3 separate regions of the Homo sapiens genome follow, and regions 2 and 3 are each linked to region 1. The links are contacts of gene promoters, found by promoter capture Hi-C in human tissues and cell types (Jung and others, 2019). All regions are on one chromosome and are shown on one strand. Each heading gives the region's core, a stretch centred on a gene start or on the middle of the fragment in contact. The rest is flanking DNA. Distances are from core to core; before and after follow the strand shown.

The links. Contacts are between HindIII fragments. The study calls those that stand out against the background at their distance.
Region 2: a contact is called between a fragment that was not itself captured here and the fragment with the promoter of CIDEA in region 1, in 1 of the 25 tissues and cell types used here (dorsolateral prefrontal cortex).
Region 3: a fragment that was not itself captured here is called in contact with the fragment with the promoter of CIDEA in region 1 in 1 of the 25 tissues and cell types used here (lymphoblastoid cells).

Annotation. Positions count from the first base shown.
Region 1 is chr18:12,252,356-12,255,678 of GRCh38, forward strand. CIDEA (cell death inducing DFFA like effector a) reads left to right here and starts at 2,006. Exons shown (of 5, transcript NM_001279.4): 1 at 2,006-2,066. The coding sequence starts at 2,029. It overlaps LOC105371996 (a long non-coding RNA gene), which reads left to right and starts at 2,658. Exons shown (of 2, transcript XR_935158.3): 1 at 2,658-3,076; 2 at 3,224-3,323. RefSeq lists an enhancer at 1,142-1,748. The HindIII fragment of the contact is 10,266 bases long and covers 1-3,323 here.
Region 2 is chr18:10,775,802-10,779,094 of GRCh38, forward strand. The region is part of intron 18 of PIEZO2 (piezo type mechanosensitive ion channel component 2); the gene reads right to left. Among named protein-coding and RNA genes, the nearest start is that of MIR6788, 18 kb to the left of the region's middle. The HindIII fragment of the contact is 4,204 bases long and covers 1-3,293 here.
Region 3 is chr18:10,444,905-10,448,371 of GRCh38, forward strand. No RefSeq gene overlaps it. Among named protein-coding and RNA genes, the nearest start is that of APCDD1, 8.0 kb to the right of the region's middle. The HindIII fragment of the contact is 8,236 bases long and covers 1-3,467 here.

The DNA.
Region 1 (3,323 bases), core at 756-3,255:
AAATGTTTGCTAGTCCCCACCCCACCCCCATGTCCACACTCAGTGCCCAGGTCTTTATTTTTATTTTGTTAGAAGTGATAATGTCACTATGGTTATGTATGAGATCATGTCCTTGTTTCTCCAGAGATGCAAGCTAAAGGATTTAATTTGGAAGGGTTCAAATTCAAATATAAAGAACAAAGAAATATGTCAAAATGTTAACAGTGGTTGAATCCAGGGGCTGGGTGTAAGTGTGCTCATTGTACTGTTCTCTCTTATCTATCTATCTATCTATCTATCTATCTATCTATCTATCTATCTTATATATAGATAGATAGATATATACACACAAACAGATTTTTTTCTTTCTTTAGAGAGAAAGTCTCACTCTGTTGCCCATATTGGAGTGCAGTGACATGATCACAGCTCACTGCAACCTCAAACTCCTGGGCTCAGGTGATCCTCCCTCCTCAGCCTCCTGAGTAGCTAGCACTACAGGTGCTCGCCGTCATGCTTGGCTAATTATCGTTATTTTTGTGTAGAGATAGTAGTCTCACAGTGTTACCCAGGCTGGTCTCAAATTCCTGGCTTCAAGCCATCCTCCTGTTTTGGCCTCCCAAAGTACTGGGATTACAGATGTAAGCCAGTACCCTCAGCCCTGTTCTTTCTATGTATCTCTATATTTGAACTTTTTCACAATAAAAAGGTTAGAGGTAAGTTGACCTGAATTGATTGGACCCATTTTCTCATCCATCACATTGGGGCTGTGAGTGGGAGGGGCAGTGAATGACCTCCTAAAGCTGTGTCCGCTCAGTGCCTCTGGGGGAAGCTGCCCCCTGTGAGCCTGGAGCTGGGTGTTCCCAGCAGGCGGAGTCCTTGACTCTGGAAGGCAATTGCCTTTGGCTTCAACAGTCCTGCAAGTCACAAGGCTTGTTGACCACGGTGACCCTTTCTGAGAGCCAGCGGAGGAAGAGGGCGGGCATAGGGTCAGGTCTTAAGAGATCAGGTCAGTCTGCTCAAACCAGGTGGGCTCAGGAGGAGCCGGCGAGGGTCCCGCTGCAGCTCCCGAAACGCTGTTTCCAGGCGGCAGTCAGCAGTTGGGCACGAGAGGATATCCTAGCAAGCCTCCATCCCAGAAAGTTACACCTCTTACTGCCCGAGTCCCACCCCTCAACACTGAGCCCACCTCTTCAGTCCTGTAGTGAGGGGTTCTGGGAACCCCTTGTAACTGCCCGCCTTCCTCGGAGGTCTCAGAGGCCCTAATTGCGTCTTCCGATGGGAACAACCATGAGAGCAGGGTGTGGACGGAAGTCCCCCAGCCCCAGCGGGGTTCACTCTTTGCCTCCTCACTCTGCGAGGGTCCCTTACTACAGCTAAAAGGCAATTCATGCAGTCCAAAGGCTCCTTTCCCCTCCCGTTCTGCATGCCCTTCTCACTGTCCCCAAATGCTCATGACATGGCCTTGAGAGCAGCGCAGCGGGCAGGAAGCCCAGGCGCCTCGGAGAACCTGAAGGGCTGCAGGTCCCGGTGTCTGCGGCAGCTTCCGCATCCCTGCAGGGAACCAGCGGCTCGCTGAGCCTGGGGCTGGGCTCTGGGGGACTCCAGAGCTGGAGGCAAGTGGCGCTCACATCCGTCTCCTCACCTGCCCCACCCGTGGCCTGGGTTTAAAATCCACATACCCGTCTTTCCGCGGCCAAAGTGATGCTGCCAGGATTGGTTATGACCCCAACTGCCCCGACCCCCAGAAGTGCAAAACGAACAGGCTGGCAAGTGACCAAAAGAGACCCGGGGAGCATCTGGGCTTCCAAGGTCCTCGGTACGGCCCAAGGCAGCGAAGGACGCGCGGCTCCAGGCTGCGGGAGCCAGGACGACCGGGGGCTCCCAGAGCGCGAAGTCGCGATCCTCGGCGGTGGAGAGCTCGTGCCAAAACGTCCTCCCCTGCGCCAGTCAGGCCTTCGCGGGGCTGGCAGGCGGGCGGGGGCGGGGCCGCCGCACTTTAAGAGGCTGTGCAGGCAGACAGACCTCCAGGCCCGCTAGGGGATCCGCGCCATGGAGGCCGCCCGGGACTATGCAGGAGCCCTCATCAGGCGAGTGCCCCGCGTCCCCCTGATTGCCGTGCGCTTCCAATCGCCTTGCGTTCGGTGGCCTCATATTCCCCTGTGCGCCTCTAGTACCGTACCCCGCTCCCTTCAGCCCCCTGCTCCCCGCATTCTCTTGCGCTCCGCGACCCCGCGCACACACCCATCCGCCCCACTGGTGCCCAAGCCGTCCAGCCGCGCCCGCGGGCAGAGCCCAATCCCGTCCCGCGCCTCCTCACCCTCTTGCAGCTGGGCACAGGTACCAGGTGTGGCTCTTGCGAGGTGCGCGGGCGTCTGCAAACCAGGTGACAGCTGGCGAGTGGCTGCATGCATCTCTGGCCGCTGCTGCAGTCGCGGGCGCAGAAGAGGGTCCGGTCCCAGGAACCCCGAGCAAAGCTTCCGCGATGCGAGGGGACCGGGCTTCTGGGGGTCCTGGAAATCACAACGGGAGCTGGGCGCGGGAGGGGCCCAGGCTTGGCCCCTCCTGGAAGCGCGGGCTCTGGTCTCCGAGGGGAGGCCCCAACCGTCCGGCGGAGCCCTCCAGGTTGGTGGTGCTGGGAGAAGCGCTCCTCCTTGCCTCCGGGTCCAAGGGCGGAGACGCTGCCTGGGGAGCAGGGGGGACAAGGGGCGGGTGGACCCTGAGGAGTCTTCCCTGCGCTTCGCACCCGCTCGTGGTCGAACAGGCAGCATTGGCTATTTTCCTGCTTGGGTTAATATTCATATCCCAACAGACCCAAGCCAATTCTTGGTAAAATCCTAAGTCATTGCGTGGCAGCAACTGTAAAGTAAGGTCTAAGAGGGAGATCGTGTTTCTCTGAAGATCAAGTACCTGGAAAAGGATAGAGAACCATTTGCGGGCTTGAAGGTGCAGGCGTTCAGCGGCGCCGGGTCCCACTGTGTGTGCTACGTGTGGCGGGCAGAGAGACTACATGTGTGAAAGGGAGCGGTCCGGCTACGAAACGCAATCTATGAGCTTCCAATCCCGGGTTCTTAAATGGGAGCTGTTGTAGACACTGCAGGTTAGAAGCATCTTTCTCTTTAAAAATAAGCCCACAGTACAAGTCGGGGCGGTGGCAGGGGGACGCTGAGAAACACCTGCTTCGTGTATGGTCATTAACACGCTTAGGCCTAAAGGTCAGGGCCCTGTATCTTTTGCGTTCTTCCAGAACCATCCACACCACAGTCCCACTTCCAGGAGGGGAGGTCTTAGCAGTTTGGAATGCGTCCTTCCAACCACTTTTCCAGTGAATTCACAACACACCCACT
Region 2 (3,293 bases), core at 174-2,673, 1.5 Mb before region 1:
ATGAGAAGGGCATCTCTGCATCCAACACTGCTCATTCCCTCTGACCTTAGAGCCACAAACTCCAGACCCTCTCTGGAGCAGTCTAACCTCATGAGCTTGTAATGGATGACAAAAAAAGAAAAAAAAAAAGAAATTATGTATCAGGCTGTCATTTACTAGTCTAGGGGTTTATTAACTATCTTGAGAAATTTCAGAGAATTGTACCTTGTATTGTAAAAAACTGTGTGCATAAAACATAGATAAAAATATTTTAAATGCATGAATAAAGTATACTGTTTCAAAAAGACACTTGTGTGAATCCTTTTACTTTTCTCTCTCTCTTTTTCTCATTTTTATGGTAACATTGTTTTTAGAGGCCATAGAGAAGAACGTTAAAAGACTTGGGTTCAAGTCTTCACCAGAAAACTTGCTAGCTAGGTGAGATGGGAAAGCTATGTAACCTATCTTTTAAGTCTCGGTTAGCTGAAACAGTAGTGCCTATTTATAGGAGGTTGTAAAAATTAAGGTGGTTTCTGTTAAGCAGTTAACACAGTGGTTAATTACACAGGAAACATTTTAAAATAAGGAGCCATCTTCTAATGGTAGATTTTCATATATTATGGTTTGATAATCTGCATCATAAATTCATTGTAAAGAAAAAGCAGAATTAGAAACATGCTTTTGTAAGAGCCTGCACAATGATGGATGATACGGAAGGTATTAAACTTAGACTATGATTCTGTCATCAGCGCCTTCTTTAACAGAACTTGGCTATTTTATAGAAGGCCATTCAGAAGAAAAAAAAGGAGCAAACATTTCTTCATCGGGAATCTGTTTCCCAATGGTCTCAGGGTTCTGTTTACTGGGCTTTCTGTGTGTAATCTCAACTACTGCATTCCCTGAGGAGTGGGAGCGGCAGAGGTGGTTCTGCACAAATGCAAGCTTTCGAGGCAGACCCAGCTGCGGTTGCTAGAAGAAACAGCTGTATGGACTCTCCGGGAAAGCCTGTGTATTTTAATTCAGCTTTTTTTTTCCTTCCTAGCAAATAAAAAGAAAATGGATCTTGATTTTCCAAAAACAAAATTTAAAAACCCACTCTAGTAAAAATACTCCTGGAAACTTCAGGCTAAAGAACTTATAAGACTTGTAATTCTTTACTGAACATCAGGCTTCAGGCTAAGGAACTTATAAGACTTATAATTCTTTACTGAATATCAGGTGCAAATTACCTAGTGGTCATATGCAGGATTTTGACTTTGGGACTCCAAATAATACGCATGATGATGAACAGGATTCCCGGAGAAGCCCCCTCCTCCACTGCCTTCAATCAGGCTGCTTTGGATGTCTTTCTCCACAGGAAGTGCATTTCTTCTCTTAGGGTTTTCTTTAACATTACTGATAACTTTGTTTCCTTGCTCTTATTCAGGCTCTGAGCTCTAACCTTCTCACTGACCATTAAGCAAAATGGCTCTCTCCTTTCATGTTCTAACGGAGCAGATGACAAGTATTTGTTTGTGTCTTCACTCACTCTACACTTCCACAGCTTTGTGCAACTCCCAATGTGTGTGTTTCTCCATTTGTGACTCTGTCATTTTATTCTAAGTATGGGTTCTGGGGACTTTCCCCTTGAAGACAGAATCCAGTCCTGCTCTACTCATCACCCTTACAAAATGTAGTACTGTGCCTGGGGTGCACTATAATTCACTGAATCTTGGGTGAAGAAATTTTATGCACTGGAGATACATCCTTATTTGAAACAGAAGAAACAAATTACTTGACAGGGACGCTCAAAGAGGGTTAATTCTGTACAAGAACCTGACTTTGAAAAGCTGCATAGTAAACTACTTTCCATTAAAGAAAATGGAAATTCTAGCATTGTAAAATCTCCTTAGTCTGAATGTCATTTGTTTTTATGATTCTAATTTGGAATATGTGGTAATATAAACTGCACTGACACTGTTATCATTAGACTATTAGCAGAAAGGTGACTTGCACCTGTGTAGTGTTTAATATAAGTAACATTTAAAGTAAAATAATTTTACTGTTTAAGATAAATTATTATCTAGAACTCAAAAGCACTCTCAGAAGATTGTATTCACATATAGGCACTTGGTTTGTGAATTGAATATTACATCTTAATTATGTGTGTTGGTAAAATGTATACTGTTTACTAGGTCAGTTGCAACTTAACCACAATTATCTATATTTTTAAAATGTTATCAAAGTGGCCTACTGTCCTCAATACACTACCCTACCTTACAACTTGTAAAGTCATGTCTAAATTTTAATCAACTCTTAAGTTGAATTGTAGGTATGCCCCTCTTTCAGCCCAGAACTAACATTTATAAACATTTTATTCTCCTTATAAAACACTGAACATAAAGAAATAATGAGAGAAAGCAAGCTTATATACTTTATTAAAGGATTCACCCTGTCATTCTAATGGATAATCAGCCCTACTCAACACTGCATACAGCATTTCAGAAGCACACATTATAAAATGAGGGACAGGCTTGTTTGATAACGTTTCCTTTGAGGCACAGCTCTGGCTGCTCTTTTTTTTTTTTTTTTTGAGAGGGAGTCGCTCTGTCGCCCAGGCTGGAGTGCAGTGGCACCATCCCGGCTCACTGCAAGCTCTGCCTCCCAGGTTCACGCCATTCTCCTCCCTTAGCCTCCCGAGTAGCTGGGACTACAGGCGCCCGCCACCACACCCAGCTAATTTTTTGTATATTTAGTAGAGACAGGGTTTCACCGTGTTAGCCAGGATGGTCTCGATCTCCTGACCTCATGATCCACCTGCCTCGGCTTCCCAAGGTGCTGGGATTACAGGCGTGAGCCACCACACCCGGCCTCTGGCTGCTCTTAACATGTTTATATTCACACAAAAATAGGAGATTTCACTGGAAAGAAGGTAAAGATGGGATATTGCAAGTTTTTGGTCATTTGGGGTGACTTTGAACTTTGATACTTCTAAGAAGTCCTGAGAGAATTAGCTGGCCTTGTGGCTTGGGATAAGGGGCATAAGCTCCCATTCATGATATAAGTCTCGTCCTTCGGGATCAAAAGTCATACGAGTTGCTGCCAAGGGAGCCCATCAAACCAACTCTTGCCCTCTTATGGGTCTCAGCTTTCTCTTTACAAAGCAAATGCTAAATGCTTCATAAGAAACACAGAGAAAAAGAGAGTGAGGAGTTCCTTATGTTTGGAGGGATGGGATTTAGATTATTGCTCAGGATTTCTAGCTAGAGTCTGTTTCTTACTTCTCTTCCTATCAGCTGAAAAACCTGTTGTTGATGTTTCTTTTTCAGGTTGTC
Region 3 (3,467 bases), core at 249-2,748, 1.8 Mb before region 1:
GAAACACAGGTCAGTGGTTCACCGGTGGTAAAGGTGACAGCGACACATCGTGAGTGCCATGGAATTCCACCTTTCCAGGTCTCTTCTGGCTCAGGGCTTCACTTGCAGTTTAAATGCAAAAATCCAGATAAAGGCTAATGCTTTTGAACTTACAAATTATTTATATTTTAGCATGAATGCATTTATAAGATCAATTCTTATTCTGTTAAGAAAGAAAGACAGAGGACATAAGAATACTCTGGTATCTTTTGGGAGGATGAGGGCAGAAAAAAGAAGCCCAAAGAGATGAATGTTGAGCCCTGCAAAGCAGAGCACAGCGCAGGGGACCTGGGAGTGAGAGAAGCTGGGAAGTATTTCTCACTGAGAGTCTTTCGTCTAGTCTGGAAGCCTTCTGTTCCTTCCTAATGAAAGTAGTGGTGCACTTAAGAACATGGTGTCTGAAATACAGTGGATGCTAAGTAAATATTCATTGAATGTATGAGTGACTCAAAGTAGACATGGAAAGCACATGTCCACGTTCCAAGCAATAGTCATAATAGGTGGCATAGAATGTGGGAGGACTTAAACGGAGGCAATCGGAGCTGCAGCCCCTTGGGCCACCCCACTTGACCATGGATGAAGCACATTCAGGAATCAGGCAGTGCATTAAGTACTTTCCATCATCCGCTTCCCTAACCCACCATAGACTCTAAGCAGCAACTCACATCGCTCTTAGGACCACTGGCTTGCACAAGGAGTCACAAGTGGCAAGTGATAGAATCAGAATTTTCATCCTGTTCCGACAAACCCCAAAGCCTGTACTCTTAACCACAGGTGATGCTGCCTCCCTTCTTATGGAAAAAGTGAAAATATATTATGATTCCTTCAACTCTTATCACCAGTGTTTGGCAAGACCTTAGAGATAACTCAGTAGATTCTCTTGGGAAATTCTAGAAAACCACTGGTTTTCAAATGAAGAGTGTATCTGCCGGCAGTAGTTCCCACACACATGTGACTAGACTTGTCACTGTAGAGATCTTAATTTTCAAAAATATACATGTGTAAGAGGAAGAATAAGATTTGGTTCTCAGTAAAGCTTTGTGGAACAAAAAAAGGTCTGACATGCTTCTCTCCTTACTGCTTGGCTCTCTGTATACGGCATTCTTCAAGGATTGTGCTGCAACAATTCTTTTCCTTATTCTTCTTTATTCTCAGATCTACCTATTCTCTGGCTGGTTGGAGAGAGATAATTTTGTTTTCAAATTATTTTGGTAATAGATGATTTCAGTTTTTGCTTCTCTAGAAGTCTCTGGCCACAGCCGTGCTTAACCAGCCACCTATCTCTTGGAGCTAACCTGGCCAGCAGCAGATAGAATACAGCATATTTGTCAGCATCACTTATTATCCAAGGTGAGGATTTAGGTCTTGGAGCTGGACAACACATAGGTGGATGTGTCCTCTGGTGGTAGTTGTAGTAACTCCTGACTGGAAGCACTTTATAGTTCCTCCATTCCAGCATCTTCTACACCCCAGGGGTCAGACCTGCATGAATGAATGCTTGGGTTCCATGGCAGGGATTTCTTTCTGGCACAGTGGGAGGTGAATGTGTGGGAGGGGGTAGGGGAGGGTCTTTAAAGCAAAGTTTTGTGCAGGTGATTGGTCAAGATTTAAAACCCAAGCTATTGAATTCAGTACAATAGGCTGGGTCAGCCGTCTTCAGATGGCTTTATAACAAGACGACCCACCTTGAAGAGTGTTTGCTTTCATGAGGTCTGTCTGCCACAGTGGCTTCCATGGAATTGGTGACAATGTGCACCAAGTTAATTTCAGCTTGGGGTGGGAATGGCTTCGTCTCTTTTCCATAAAGCATGAACAACTGCTGCCCTTATCGTCCCCTCCCTGTATTCTTGGAGGGCCACTAGTCTTAGCATACTCTGCACATCCAGCTATGCAGTGGCAAAGAACGTTTTCTGTACTTTGTTCTGCATTAAAATACAGGAAAGGCAGTTTGAGGACCTATAAAGTATGGCAGATTGCACACGGGAATGTGGCCTCTGATGTCTCTGCTTGTCTGTCACTCTCCCAGACAATCCAGGCCTGCTCTGCAACAAGAATAGATTCTTCTGGAATGTTTTCCCCATGGCTCACCCTCATGGAAGCACAAAGGCCATCCCACAGAGGGGCACAAAGGAAACAGCTATGACGAGCAAGGCCAACACAACACAAAACAACACCCACAAGTACCACAGGTAAGACTGACATTGCTTAGTTTACTGTGTTAAAAGACTGTATAATGGTTAGAAACCAGGGGCTTGTGGTGAAGTAGAAAATACTTGGATACCAGAACAGGAAAGCCTAACATATCTTTAGAAGCAGCAAAGGTGGAATTGATGCAATGAAGAAAGGAATTTGTGATGTGGTATACACATTTAACAGGAATCTGGCATACAATTAATTGAATACACATAATGTTTCATAAGGCCCTTGCTTTCCAAGTTTTTAACCATTATGAGAGATAAAATATGACCTTGAAGCACAGGAAGTGGAAGTGGAGGTGGAAGAGGCCCTAAAATGAGATGAGGAGACCTGGAATCTAAATAAGAGTTCATACTCAGGAGAAGGTCTGACTTCAAGGGGTCTCGGTTTCCTCGTAGCCCTAAACCCTCCGCTGAGACTCAAGGCTCTCTTCCACCCATCACGGGTGGACATCACCTCCGCAAGATGAAGAGTTCCACCTAAGTGCTGCTTGCATCTACTTCTACTGATGATTTTGGAGTTGCTCAACCCTCGAGTTCCAAGAGAAAAGCACAAAGGTCTGGTCTAAATGCCAGCAGTACAGCTTTACAGTTTACCACCTGCTGCATCTCTGGGGCACCCTGTGGACACCACATCTGATGGAGACTGTGCTCATCCAGCTATCTCACAGGGGGAGATGTTTTGCGCCCACCGCTGTATGGCCGTCCCCACTGACATAAGATCAGCCAACTGATTGACCTCTTATGCCCAGAGACTCCTGCCTAAACCTGCTGTCCTGTAGCTCATTCTGGATGAGCTCATAGCCATGTTGATCTTTTGTTCTATAAATTCTCCAGACTTTGGTTGGTGTCCTTGACCCTGCTTCAAGAAATTTTCCTTGCCACTGCAGAGCAACGTGTGCTGAGTACGCAGACTTAGAGGCTCTCCAAGAATACAGGGATTGGGAGTAGAAGCAGCAGATAGTTCATGCTTTACACAAGTAAGGCTAAGCCATTCCCAGACCAAGCTGAACTTAACGTGGTGCACATTATGATGCTAGTCTCTTCTCCAGTATGATTTGCCACCATATTTGCTGTTGTTCATTTAACTCGAATGGGTCTGCTGGAGTAAAACATTTGGTTTCATCTAATCAATCAAGAGTCTATGAAGAGTTACTAATTTAGGCACTGGGCTAAAGCCTATGAAAAATTTAGAGACACAGTGTAAGACAATAAACTATACAAGCATGTAAG